Linked DNA regions of Homo sapiens: region 2 is linked to region 1. The links are contacts of gene promoters, found by promoter capture Hi-C in blood cells and fetal thymus (Javierre and others, 2016). All regions are on one chromosome and are shown on one strand. Each heading gives the region's core, a stretch centred on a gene start or on the middle of the fragment in contact. The rest is flanking DNA. Distances are from core to core; before and after follow the strand shown.

Region 1 (6,748 bases), core at 607-3,106:
TTAGAGGGGTGCTTACATACCCCACCCTCTCCTTGCCCACCTGGCAAGAAGTTTGTCACAAGGCCCCAGATGTTTTTTGTGTCACTTCTCCAGGATGGCCTCCCAGGGCCAAGCCTCGGCGGTGCCTCCCCCACCCTCGCTCTAACACCACAGTGTGGTTTGGACGTGGCCACAGTGCCGTACAAACCACAGTGTGCTGCTGGGGCGGGAGCAGGACCGGGGTGGGTTGAAAGGAAGAGAGCACATAGCAGTGCTGGGAAGACCCCAGCACCACCTCCAGGAGCGGGGGGATAGAGAAGCCTTAAAAGGCAAACATGGCCCCCAAAAACGTTTGGGAGGAACCAGGGACGGGCTGAGCAGGCAACTGGAAGGCGACGGACCATGGGGATGAGCTCACAGTGTAGTAAGATTGGACCATCTTCCCTCTGTAGGAACTCAGCTCAGGGGATCCCTAGGGTGGGGTCAGAGGCAGAAGAAATAGGGAATGACTGGAGGGGCCAACACACTGCCTCCTGTCTCAGCAAGGGCAGGGACCCAAGGCTTCCTGTGTCCGTCCTTCCTCTCCCTGGGTCAGAACCCAAGAGAAAAGCAAGGAGAGACAGAGGGCCAAGGCCAGCAGGGTTGGGAGTTGGCAGTCCAGAGGTGGTGGGGCCGGAACATGGTTGGGAGAGGGGGGCCGGAAGTCGCCCTGGGCCCTGGGCCTGCCACAAGATGGAGGCCAAAGGCAGGAAATGGAGACCAGGGGGAAGGGGAGCAGCAGAGCCCAGGAAGAGGGCCATCTGGACCTGGGGGGCCAGGTATTCAACCCCCAGTGCTGTTCCCACTCCCCAGGGCCCCTGAGGACCCGAGCCGGCCCCCACAGCAACCTCCATCAGCCCATCCACCAGGCCAGGGCAGGCGGGCCCACCCCAGAGAGCCACGTTTAAGCTGAGACAAACATGCCTCTCCCCACCCCCAACTCCAGGCCTTCCCTCAGCCCTTTTCTCCTGTCCAGGACTTGATTTTTTAAAAACACCCCTCAGAAAGCAAAATCCAAGGGCCAAAACTCCTTTTGCAAATCAAAATATGACCCCCTAAAATCCAGAAGTTATCTTCCTATATCCCATCGCATCTTTTACCACCCCCTCTTCCGACACACCCCCCAAAACTCTTAGCAATCTGAAAGATCCAAGGTGGTGTATGTAAGCAGTCTTTTTAGGCCCCCGAAGATGCCAGACCCCTCCCGGACACCCCTATCTGCCCTCCATCAAATCTTGCCAAGGCCTCCTGCTCCTCCACCACCCTCCATAGCCCCCAAACTAACAGTTGCCCCCAGCTCCTACCTCGGCAGAGCCTTTGTGGGGGGTGAAAGAGAAATTAAACACTATCCTAACGGCTGGGGATGTTGGGGGGCTCTCTGGTCTCAGCCTTTGGTTTCCGTCTGGGGGGCTGCAGTTTAGGGGTATAAGAGAAAGCCTCTCCAATCATCCCCCCAATTCCAAGACTGACAAAGCCAACCCCACCCCAGCACGCACCTCCAAACCTCCCCCCCAACCGCCACGTCTCTCCTGAAAACAGAGGACACTTCCCTCCCCACTTACCTCAGCTACTCTCCCCTGAGATCCTGGTCCCCTATTTTGAAAAGAGCAAAATTTAGGGTGCATCCCTCACATTTGGGGTGCAGGAGAAAGGAGCCGCCCCAGTCGCATCGCTGGCCTCCTTCCTCTCGGCTGGCTCAGGGACTGGGGAGTGCCCTGGGGAGGGGGCACCCCCACAAGAGATCTCAGGAGGGGTTCCTCCACTCCCAGTCAGAATTGGGGACACCCCCCCAAAACCCGTCCCAGCCCATCCGTCTCCAACTCGGCGGGAGAGGCAGCTGCAATGCCCCAGTCAGATTCACCCAACACTACATTCCTCACCCCATCTAGAGGGGTCCCGGGGTCCCCAAAAAATCCCAAAAAAATCTAGGATGTTGGGAGGACGGTCCTGGACTAGCTCCCCAAATTTGGGGTCCTCAGATACCCCCGTTTTTTCAGGAAAATTCCGTCTTTTGCCTGCCTCCCGCCAGCCCTGCTCTGTCCCGATGCCAATTTTGGAAGTCACTCCCTCCTTCCTCCTCCCCGTCTCTCCAGGCCCCCCCCACCGCTCGGGGGCTAGGGTCCAGGACACCTGGCTTCCAGACCGGGGGGAATCACTCCTCAAAGGGCTAGGGGCCAGGAGGTCAAGCTCATTGCCCCTGTCTTAAGGAAGCAGGAAAGCCCGTTCCTCCCTTCCCCTCCCCCCTGGCTGGTCACCGTGGTGGTTTAGGAAAGCCTGGAGGATTGGAATCTGCCATTGCTGTTGCACAGGCAGTTTTTTTTCTTGGGTTGGGGGGGTGGGCGGTGGGAGGGAGAGAGGGGAGGAGGGCCGAAGAGAGAAGGGACCCAGGCGCGAAGAGCTGGCCTGGCTTACCCTGTAGCCCCGGCTGCCGTGGGGAACCCCTCCCCGCCATCTCACCCACACTCCCAGTCCTCTGTCTGCTTTCTGTTTGGGGCTCATCCTAGAAAATCAGGGTGCAAGAATCACCTCCTTGTACCCCACCAGCACCCCTCCTTGCCACAGTTCCAACAGCACTGCCCTGGTCAGGGGTGCCCACTTGGCCAAGGGACACCCCATTTTTCTCCAACTTCCCCCAAACTAAGGGGTGCTCCCTTAAGAAATTGGGATTCAGAGTCTGAAACCGCCTTTTCTCCCTCTCTTCTCCCTCAAGCCACATAATAATAAAAGGAGATACCACACCCTTTCCAAGTTTCTCCCTTCAAATCCTGGGCTTATTTGGGGGTTCACTAAAGAAACTTCTAGAATCTGGGGTGAGAGGGCACTATAAGCAAAAGACATCCCAAACCAGGGTCCAAATTAAGTGAACTCCCAAATCAGTCTCACCTTATGATTATCCCTTAGCTTCACCAAAAGCAGCCAGAGTGACAAAACACCCCCAAAATAAGAACACCCCAGAACTTTAGTCTCCTGTCCTCGCGGCCCTCACCTTGTTTCTCCCCTGGGGAAAAAGCTTCTTGGGTATCCATGGATACACAGGAATACCCCACGTCTTTCCACTTTGTGGAACGTGAGTGTCCACAAGACTCAAATATAAAAGTTTGCTCCCCCCTCCCAGGACCCCCAATCACAGAAAGCTTCGAACTTGCTCCCAGCTTCCTATAATGTTCCACCTCAAACTAATTTTTAAAACTCCAAATTGAACTTATTCCCCAAATCTAATCTGAGCCTTGAAACTTAGATGGCACCCCAAAATAGACTGCACCCCCAAATCAGCATGAGTACTTTGGTTCTGCTGATAGTCCAAGATGACACAGGTGAGCACAATCTCCAAATTGTGGGTGTCAGAACCCCCAGAACTAATGTAACTTCCAAGTCAGCCCCATACCTGAAACTTACCATATAGGCCTCAAAGGCTGAATGCAGCCACCGGTGCTCACAATCAAATCAACACCCCATAATAAACAGACACCCCACAACTGATCAAATAATACTCCATCCTGATGCCAAAGGGAGAGCCCCTAGTCTAATTCTCATCTCCAAGCTGGGCAGAGACCTAAATAACCCTCACATGTCAAAGCCACCTCATCGTCCTGAATTTCCCAGTTCCCGGTTTCTCAGCTGTTCTTTCATGCATTCAAATAAAGACACACTCCGGTCTGAAGGGGAGGGCCCCGGGCCTGATATCCAGCCCCGTGGACCATGGTCGGCCATTCCTGGCCAACTGTACACTCTCCCCAGCCCAAATCCGGGGAGCTTCTGCCTTGCAGCTGGATTCAGCTCTAGCACCCCTTCTCCAAATGAGCTTTGCCTTGCCTGCCCGCAATGTCTCCCGAAACAAAATATGAGGGTGTGATCCATGCCCATCTCTCAGATCAGGGACTTCAAATTAGGGTGGTTAAGCCCCCTCCTGCCCTCTCTCCCTCCTCCTTGTTTTCCCTTCTCGTTTACCCCACCCAATTTTAATGTTCAATTAAAAGTCACCTCCAAAGACATCTGGGTAGCAGTGTCTAGCTTAATTCGAAAAGAAAACCCGGAGTTCCCAGGCTCAGGTCCCGCTTCTTGTCCCACCCATTCCCCTGGCTCCTAAAGCCCGCGATTTCTCACCTCGGGTAGGAACCCCAGCCTGAGGGGAAAGTCCCCTCGGTCTCCTAACTCTAGCTCCCTCCGCCCAGCCCTAGTCCCCTCCTAGGAGACAGAGGTGCAAAATAAACCCGCGCAAAGGGGAGGAGGCTAAAGGTTTCAGCCGCCCAGACCAAATGGATCCTGCGCCCGGGTCTGAGCGCACCCCAGGCCGGGTGGAGACGAGGGGCGAGGCGAGGCCAGTGCTCGGCCGCCCCCTCGTGGAAGGAGCCGCACATTGCCGAGCCTTGCCTACTTGCCGCGCTGGACCCCGGCGTCCCGCCAGCCTCCAAGCGTAGCCGACGGGCGGGTGCCCGAGGCCCTCGTGAGCTGGGATTGGGGGAAAGCAAGCGGGCTTTGGGCGGGAGTCCATCTCTCTGGATCCCTACAAGGACCCAGAAGAGAGTCGGGAGCGAGAGAGGCCGGACGCCTAGGTCTCCCGAGCGTCTCTCGCCCCTCCACCCCCACCTCGGGGCTTTCCCCACCTCCTCGAGGGGAAGCAGCTGGCGGAGCCGTCCGGTCGCAGGACAATGGAAGGAAACCAACTAGAAATCATATCCGCCCTCTCCGTACCCCGCCCGGCCAGAGCCCCCCTTTTTGTAGGCCCGGGTAGAGTAGCCTGTCATTCACACCACACCCTCCCCGTCTGAGACCCTACGGGAGCCCACTGTCGTCTGCCCAAACCTGCTGTCTCGTTGGGCTCCCCCTTTTCTCCCTTAACACAGTACAAGAGAGGGAGAGGGGGTTGCCGTATGCACTTTGTCCTGCAGCAAAGGTTGGCTCCTGGCAAACCCTCCCAAAAGCCAACACACCAATTTTCACTGGCCCAGGCCTTCCGACGACTCAGACTCCCGTATTGCCAACCTCGATATCCCTAACCTCCTCCCCAATTCCAATATCCCCGTCCTCGTGTCCACTTGCAGTGACCCAAGACCCCCTACGTTACGACCACCCCTTGTTTCTGAGGTCCCGCCCTCGAGACGGAGACCCCGCCCTGGACTCGCCATCTGGAGAGCGAGGGAGGAAGGAAGGATACAGACCCAGGCGTTCACCCCACCTCCACCCCCGCCCCCGACATCCCGGCCAGATAAAGGAGCCGAGGCCAAGAGGGGAGAGAGACCCCGCCCCCCTTAAGAAGAGAAGCCGCGGCCCCTGCAGGACGGGGGTAAGAACAAGAGACTGAGGGAGCCAGACTCCTGGGTCCCCCAAGAGGGTAGGAGCTTGTGTGGAGCTTGCCATCAGCGAGCCTGAGTCCCAGAAATTGGGCTAAACTAGGGATTGGGGACTAGATAGGAGTCGCAGAATTCCGTAGTTCGGGGAAGGGAGCCTCGGCTGGGATTTGGAGGTGTGTGGACGGCAGGCCGTGAGATCTCGAGGCAGGGTTGGACACCTGAGACACAGGCGCGCAGAGGGGAGTGGCGGTGCTGGAGGGGCACTGGGGGTCGAACCCAGGGCGATGGGCGCGGGATTCCCCACGCTCGCCAACGACGCCGCGGTGTGGAACCTTCAACTGGCTCCAAGCGCTGTGGGATCTGGAAGAGGCAAGGGAGCGAGGGTGTCGTAGAGGGCAGAATGAACAAGAAGAATTAGGAGGGAGGCTGCGTGTGCCGGGGCTAGGGGCTGGAAGTCCTGGCTCTAGTTGCACCTCGGAAGGAAAAGGCAAACAGAGGAGGGAAGGCGTCTTAGGACTGCCTGGATCCAGAGCACTTTCCACGGCCTCTACAGGCCTGTGTCGCTATGGGTTCCCCCGCCGCCCCGGAGGGAGCGCTGGGCTACGTCCGCGAGTTCACTCGCCACTCCTCCGACGTGCTGGGCAACCTCAACGAGCTGCGCCTGCGCGGGATCCTCACTGACGTCACGCTGCTGGTTGGCGGGCAACCCCTCAGAGCACACAAGGCAGTTCTCATCGCCTGCAGGTTCGAGGGGTGGGGCCTGGGGCGGGGCCAAATGGGAAAGGGGTGGGACCACAGGGCCGTTGAGAGGGAATCCGAAGCCAAGTCTTTCAGAAGCAGGAGGCGGAGCGTCCCAGAATTGGGGGCGGGGTGATAGTGAGGAGGCGGGACTTTTTCAGGGGGCGGGGCTTCCTGAAGCTGCGCATGTCTCCCTTGGTTCCCCAGCCCCCAAAGGACTTATCTGCTCTCTCTCTAGTGGCTTCTTCTATTCAATTTTCCGGGGCCGTGCGGGAGTCGGGGTGGACGTGCTCTCTCTGCCCGGGGGTCCCGAAGCGAGAGGCTTCGCCCCTCTATTGGACTTCATGTACACTTCGCGCCTGCGCCTCTCTCCAGCCACTGCACCAGCAGTCCTAGCGGCCGCCACCTATTTGCAGATGGAGCACGTGGTCCAGGCATGCCACCGCTTCATCCAGGCCAGGTGAGGGACCCTGGCTCGGCGTTCTCTGTGGGTGAGGTGTTAAGGGCAAAGGCAGAGTTTAGGAAATGGCACTAACGTTCATCACACTTTCCCCAGCTATGAACCTCTGGGCATCTCCCTGCGCCCCCTGGAAGCAGAACCCCCAACACCCCCAACGGCCCCTCCACCAGGTAGTCCCAGGCGCTCCGAAGGACACCCAGACCCACCTACTGAATCTCGAAGCTGCAGTCAAGGCCCCCCC
Region 2 (6,932 bases), core at 2,491-4,990, 350 kb before region 1:
TGCTGAGCCTGTCTCCCCACCGGTCTGAGGTCTGCAGATTAGGCTTCCAGACAGGGAGCGGCAGGGCAGGCCCCTCAGTGGGAAGACAGGAGTGTCTGTATGGCCAGCCGGGAATCAAGAACCATTCACCCTCCACCAGCAAGGGTGGGGCTGCCCTGAGCTTTCAGGCAGCTGTTTTATGGAATTATTAATTTTAATGTACAGATGGTTTTATTTTCTGCTCATTTTCACATATTCTAAGAACCCTTAAATGTTATACTATATAGTCTTTTTTTTTTTTTTTTTTTTTGAGACAGAGTCTTTGTCACCCAGGCTGGAGTGCAGTGACGCAATCTCAGCTCACTGCAACCTCCACCTCCCGGGTTCAAGCAATTCTCCTGCCTCAGCCTCCTGAGTAGCTGGGATTACAGGTGCCTGCCACCACATCTGGCTAATTTTTGTATTTTTAGTAGAGACGGGGTTTTGCCATGTTGGCCAGGTTGGTCTCGAACCCTTGACTTCAGGTGATCCACCCACCTCGGCCTCCCAAAGTGCCAGGATTACAGGCTCAAGCCACCGCGCCCAGCCTATAGTCTTAATATTCCCTATTTTAAAAAATATTCATGGCGGCCATACTAGAGCCCCCGGGATATAGCGGAGAGCACTGCCCTCATGGTCTTTAGATACACGTCTTTCATGGTTCTGTTGAATGACTTCCTTACAACACATTCCCAGGAGCAGAATTACCACATTAAAAGGTATGAACATTTTTATAGCTCTGGAAGCGTATTGCCCAATTTCTCCCCTAAAAAGGTGGTGTTAATTTACACTGCCACTGGCAGTGTGTGTAAGCTGGTTTCAGCACAGCTTCAACAGCATGAGACATTATAATTTTGTTAATGTTTGCTAATTTCATAGGTGTGAAATGAATGGCACATCAGGGGGACTTTAATTTGCGTTCCCTGGTGATCGTGAGGGTGAGCCTGTTTGGAGGTGCTGATGTGCACAGTCTGCCTAGTGGGGGCCTCTCCGCCCTGTCTCAGGCACTGTCTGTTTCTCAGCCTGTGTCTCCCCACACCTCTGCCTGCCTCCCGCCGACTGCTGTTCTTACTGTCCCTCTAAGCCTGTCTGTCTCAGTGTCTTAGCCTCTGATTCCTCTGAGTTTCTCTGGTTCCTAACTGGCCAGGTGTGGAGCTGGTTCATGGAGGTCCTAGCCAAGCCCTGACAAGCTGCAGTCTAGAGGCGGGGCGCAGGGTTCTGGGCACAGGGCTCCAGGCTCCTGCCTCCAAGGGCTCCCTCCCCGGGGAGCTCCCTTTGTGAACTCACATGGTGCCCTGCCCTTCCTTCCACCAGGGCCTCACCAAAGGCCCCTTTCATTTCTCCAGGTAGCCTCAGCTGGGCTGACCTGCTCGATTGGATCCAGTGATTCTGAGATCCCAGAAGTAGCTGGGAGTGAGCAGGCTGTCCCTCAGTGACTCCCTCTTAGGAAGTGTTCCAGAAGCCCCACCCTCAGGACAACTCACCAGACAGTGTTGTGTGTCCTGGCCGTTGGGGGTGTGTGGTCTGAAAGAGCCAGAAAGTGGTGTCCCCAAAGTCCAGATGTGTGGACAGTAGACAGGTCCACAGAGGTGACAATGGCGCCGCCTGCCTACCTTCTCCAACGAGCCCCTTACCTGAAGTGGCAGAAAGAGCTCACCTCTCAGGCCAAACCCCACTTGGCACCAGGTGGACGGGGGGCCACCGAGGCCCCATGGTTTAGCAGGGTCAGAGTGGGGCTGTCACCCTGCCCACTTTCAATGGCGTGGAAGAGTCTTCAACACTTGGGAAAGTTTCAGAAAGACTCTAGAGAGGCAGCTGGCTTCAAGGGAAGGCTGTGTGGATGTACTTGGCGAATCCTCATGATCAGTGAGTTGCTGACTCCGGGCTCTGGACCTGCCCTGTGGCTGCTTGTCTTTGAGGCAGGTCTTGAGGGCTCTCTGCAGTCACCTCTCAGGCCCTGTGGGTGGTCCCAGCCTATTAGAATCGTAGATTGATACCAGCCAGAAGGGAACTCTGACATCAAGTTCTCTCTCTTTTTTTTTTTTTTTTTTTTTTTTGAGACGGAGTCTCTCTGTGTCGCCCAGGCTGGAGTGCAGTGGCGTGATCTCGGCTCACTGCAACCTCCACCTTCCGGGTTCCAGCGATTCTTCTGCCTCAGCTGCCCGAGTAGCTGGGACTACAGGCGTGCACCACCATGCCCGGCTAATTTTTGTATGTTTTAGTGGAGATGGGATTTCACCATGTTGGCCAGGCTGATCTCAAACTCCTGACCTCATGATCCACCTGCCTCGGCCTCCTAAAGTGCTGGGATTACAGGCATGAGCCACCACGCCCGGCCCTACCCTCTCATTTTATTTAACATTTTAACGTTAAGCTTTTAAAAAATTATACAAATAATGCATGCCTGTTTCTAGGATATTTGGAAAATACAGAAAACTATAAAGGAGAAAATATTAATCCTTCTATCCGTTCATCAAAGATAACTGCTATTCTATTTCAATATCAACCTTTTCTGTGCTCGCATATTTTTATTATCACTACGACCATACATTATACGTGATTTATTTACCTCCGATTATATGCATTTTCAATATAACGAAATATTCTTTAAAAACACTGTTAATGACTGCATAATAGTCTTTTGAGCTGACACACCTTAACTAATATTACCTAAATGTCAGGCATGTATGTTTTCAGTTTTTCAAGGATATAAAAATATACCAAAGTAAACATCTTGGGACAGGCGTCATGGCTTACACCTGTAATCCCAGCATTTTGGGAGGCCAAGGTGGGCAGATCACTTGAGGTCAGGAGTTTCAGATCAGCCTGGCCAACACGGTGAAACCCCGTCTCTACTGAAAATACAAAAATTAGCTGGGCATGGTGGCAGGTGCCTGTAATCCCAGCAACTCAGGAGGCTGAGGCAGGAGAATTGCTTGAACTGGGAGGGGTGGAGGGGTTGCAGTGGGCTGAGATCACGCCACTGCACACCACAGCCTGGGGGACAGAGTGAGACTCCATCTCAAAAAAAAAAAATACTGGGTGTGGTGGCTGACGCCTGTAGTCCCAGCTACCTGGGGACTGGAGTGGGGGAGGCTGAGGTGGGAGGATCACTTGAGCCCAGGAGGCAGAGGTTGCAGTGAGCCAAGATCGCCCCACTGCACTCCAGCTTGGGAGACAGAGTGAGACTCCGTCTCAAAAACAAAACAAAAAATACTAAAGTAAGCATCTTTATGCATAAATTTTTGTCCACAATTTCATTTTTCCCTTAGCTTAGATTCCTACTCATAGGGTATAGGCATGTTTTAAGATTTCGCATGTGTATTTTTATTTTACTTTTGAGAAAGGTTGAACTAACACATGCCCATCTCGCCACACACCATCAACTACACCAAGAAATATCATTCAAAGAAACATCGACTAACTCGAAAGACAGTATTTCTGTTGCCTCCTTTCAGTGATCGGTCAGCTAAGTCTTGGAGAGGAAAAGGGACATGACGAGGGTGGTTCTAGGAGTGTGTTATTTCATTCTGTCTTCACAGCAACCCCATATAAATAGCAAGAAGTGGAGGAGCTAAAGCACGCAGATTAAGGTTAAGGAACTTGCCTGGCCGGGCACAGTGGCTCACGCCTGTAATCCCAGCACTTTGGGAGGCCGAGGCAGGTGGATCACCTGAGGTCAGGAGTTCGAGACCAGCCTGGCCAACATGGTGAAACCCCGTCTGTACTAAAAATAGAAAAATTAGCCAGGCATGGTGGTGTGCACCTGTAATTCTAGCTACTCAGGAGGCTGAGGCAGGAGAATTGCAGGAGAATTGCTTGAACCCAGGAGGTGGAGGTTGCAGTGAGCTGAGATCGCGCCATTGCACTCCAGCCTGGGCAAGAAGAGCGAAACTCTGTCTCAAAAAGAAAAAGAAAAAGGAACCTGCCTGGACTCACATTCGGTTACTAAGAGTTGGAGCCCGAGTTGGAGCCTGTGCCGTTGGGCCCCAGGGCCCTTGTACTTCATGTCACCTCCATGCCACAGCTCCTGTTCCCAGCTGTGATGCTGGAATGTGGATTGGAACCAAGTCATAAAGAAACTTGGAGTTTGGATTTACCCTATAGACAGAGAGAGGCCCTTGATGGGTCCTTAAGCATCAAAGCTGGGTTTTACAGAGATGTTTCTGGTGGACTGGCTTGAGGGAGACAGGAAATAGGGAGGTCAGCTGGGAAACGCAACATACAGATAATGCGATTGACAAACAGGGCTCGCACGGAAGCACACGTGCCTATGGTTGTGGGAAGTGGGCAGTTGGGAATGCTGAGGGTCTCAGAGGCCTCCCACCATGCCCTCTTCACTGAGCAAAGGCCATTTTTATCTGCTACACGTCAGGCAAAACCTGCGCCAACTGCCAAAGCCTCCACCTCAAATCTAGCAAATAAGAGAGAGGACGGTATGGATTACGTTATATTTAAAACAAGCCCACACAATGCCTGTAATTTTTCATTCTGACTCCGTAATTATAACTCAAGACCAGTCAGATCATAGTTATCCCCACACCGACCTGCTGTTGGGACACATGGAATTAAAGGCTTTGCTCCCTTCAAATTCTATTTTGGAGGCCGAGCACTGGCAGGTAACGGGCCTTTCTCAAGGCCCGTCTTGTTGGAGCCCCTCCCGGGGCAGCCTCCACGAAGGCCAAGTCAGCACCAGGGTTTCGGGAAGACCACGGATGGTGTGGGAGCAGTTGAGATGCTACCGCTTTGCCCGACCTGAGCCCTGGGCCTCGGGGCTGAGCCAGGGGCCTGGAAGCAGAGGTGAGCACCGTCCTTGGACCAGACCTTGGGCAGGTCTATCCCAGAGCATCTGCACCCTCGAAGATTCCCAAATGCTGCTCTACCCTGGACCTGACCAGGGTCCCAGGGTCAGATGGGCCAAGCCCTGGTTGTCCGGCACACTTGTCACAGACAGGCTGCTATTGCCCAAAGGGGCCTAAATTCAGAGAAGAAGAAGAAGAAGAAAAACATCCAAGGAGTGTGAAGGGGCCAGGCTTCCATGGACAGCCTGGCTAACCAGGCCTAGGCCAACTAAGCTTTTCTTCCAGTGTGAGCACCACCCCTCAGCCCCACAATGGCACCCTAGACAGAGCCAGAGTGGGACTGGCTCCCTGCTCGTGGACCTGGGTTACCAGCAGGAGTCAGGAGGGCCAACTGCCCTTTCTCCACACGGCCCTCCCAGGCCCAGTCCCACCTCCCCATAGCCTTGCGGGGGAGGCAGAACAGCATCCTTTCATCCAGGCGCTTCAGGACCTGCTCTATCCAGGCCCTTCATGCACCATCTCATTTACTCCTCCCGTCACTCTGCCAAGGGGGTGTGGTTAGTGTTATCACAATTTCCAGTTGAGACATGAACAGATGGAGCTCAGAGAGGTGGCATGACCGAGGCCACTCAGGTCATAAGTGAGGAGGTCAGAGCTGGGACTGAGTTGTCCTAACATCCCTGGACCACACAGCGCATCCACAGGCAACTGGCCCGAGACCGCCAGGCCTGCTCCTGGCTGTGCCTCAGCAATTCCTTGGTGGTCCCATGTTCTTGGGCAACTTGCTGAGCCCTTAGGCCTAAGGAAGCTCAGGCCCAGTGCCTGTCTCCCAGCCCCCCTCTTCTCCTGGTGCACATTGCACTGCTCCCTTGCCTCAGCCACACCAGAGGACGAGCCCACTCCCTGCACAGGGCCTTGTTCTCACGTCCCCACGTGGATGGTTCCCTCTTCCAGCCAATGGTGCATCTTACACATGCTTCTGTTTTAACCCTCAAGACATTGTGCTGTTACTATTCTTATCACTGTCTCCGGCTAGACTTCTCAAGGGAGGACCTGTGTCCTGTCTCTCTGTTGCTAGTTTTATGCATAGCATGTAGTAGGTGCTCAGTAACTGTTTGCGCAAGAAAAAAACAAGAATCTAGAAAACTCCCATTTGTCTTTAAAACTCTGCCTAGAATAGATCCGATGAAGACTTTGCTGATTCACACAGACCAAGCTAACCCCATTTACTAGGCTGTATCCTTGAGGACAGGGACAGAGCTTGATTCTTCTCTGTGACCCCATCTCTCAGCACAGAAGAAGCGTCAACCAAGGGTCAGTAAATGTAGAACTGAATTGCTCTTTGCAGTTGCACACACACACACGCACACGCACACACATACTGCACACTGCTTCAGCCCCGGATTAAGGGCATCATGACCTGAACCAGCCAAGTGCCCATGTTATTGGGCTGAAACCACCCCAGGCTGAAATGCCAGGGATGTTTGCTAAGGAAGAAAACACTGAAATCCTAACTTTAAAAAAAGAAACACAGTGAATAGGTGTTCTATTTATATGAAAATCAGGTCTGTTTTTAGGTAACAGCCCTCCCATCTCACCTCCCCAAGGTGGGTCCTGTCCTTGCACCAGTTCCTTCTACACCCCACCCGGTAATCACAGCCCTACCTGCCCCACCTCCTCTCCCCTGTTTGCTCTCTGGGGTTTCCCTCGATTGCAGGGTTTGAGCTTCCAGACATCACAGGGGCCTGTCTCAGACTGGCCCCTTCCCTCCCTCCCTGACGCTGGAGTTAGTGAGAAGGAGGCCAGAGCCAGGGCTCTGTGAGAGGAGAGGGGGCAGGCCGGGAGTCAGTCTGTCGCAGGATCTGTCCCTTACCTGATCCAAAGCACAGAAGATGGATGGCTGGTGCACAGAAGGAGCTAAGCCCTGCTTCTCCCAGGCCTCTGTCAAGCCAGCAGGGTCCCACTCCTTAGCTCGGATCATGCACAGGTGCCCCATGGCGCAATGCAAAGAGCAGAGGCTTTGGAATCAGGGTTCCAGTCCTGGTCCTGCTCCTCCATTTAGACAAACCCCTGCAAGCCTCAGAGTCCTCAGCAGCCAAAGGGGGCGTCAGC

What was found. The method cuts DNA at HindIII sites, captures the fragments that hold promoters and counts their contacts. A CHiCAGO score of 5 or more calls a contact.
Region 2: a contact is called between a fragment that was not itself captured here and the fragment with the promoter of MIR497HG in region 1, in 3 of 17 cell types (megakaryocytes, erythroblasts and neutrophils). The highest score is 11.0, in megakaryocytes.

What each region holds. Positions count from the first base shown.
Region 1 is chr17:7,017,798-7,024,545 of GRCh38, forward strand. It overlaps MIR497HG (mir-497-195 cluster host gene), which reads right to left and starts at 1,857. Exons shown (of 3, transcript NR_038310.1): 1 at 1,581-1,857. It overlaps BCL6B (BCL6B transcription repressor), which reads left to right and starts at 5,253. Exons shown (of 9, transcript NM_181844.4): 1 at 5,253-5,302; 2 at 5,863-6,053; 3 at 6,286-6,507; 4 at 6,604-6,748. The coding sequence starts at 5,875. MIR497 (microRNA 497) reads right to left here and starts at 225; the gene lies at 114-225. RefSeq lists an enhancer at 762-931 and a silencer at 4,207-4,346. The HindIII fragment of the contact is 3,977 bases long and covers 1-3,026 here.
Region 2 is chr17:6,670,022-6,676,953 of GRCh38, forward strand. No RefSeq gene overlaps it. Among named protein-coding and RNA genes, the nearest start is that of MIR4520-1, 18 kb to the left of the region's middle. RefSeq lists a silencer at 170-324 and an enhancer at 6,729-6,932. The HindIII fragment of the contact is 2,701 bases long and covers 2,391-5,091 here.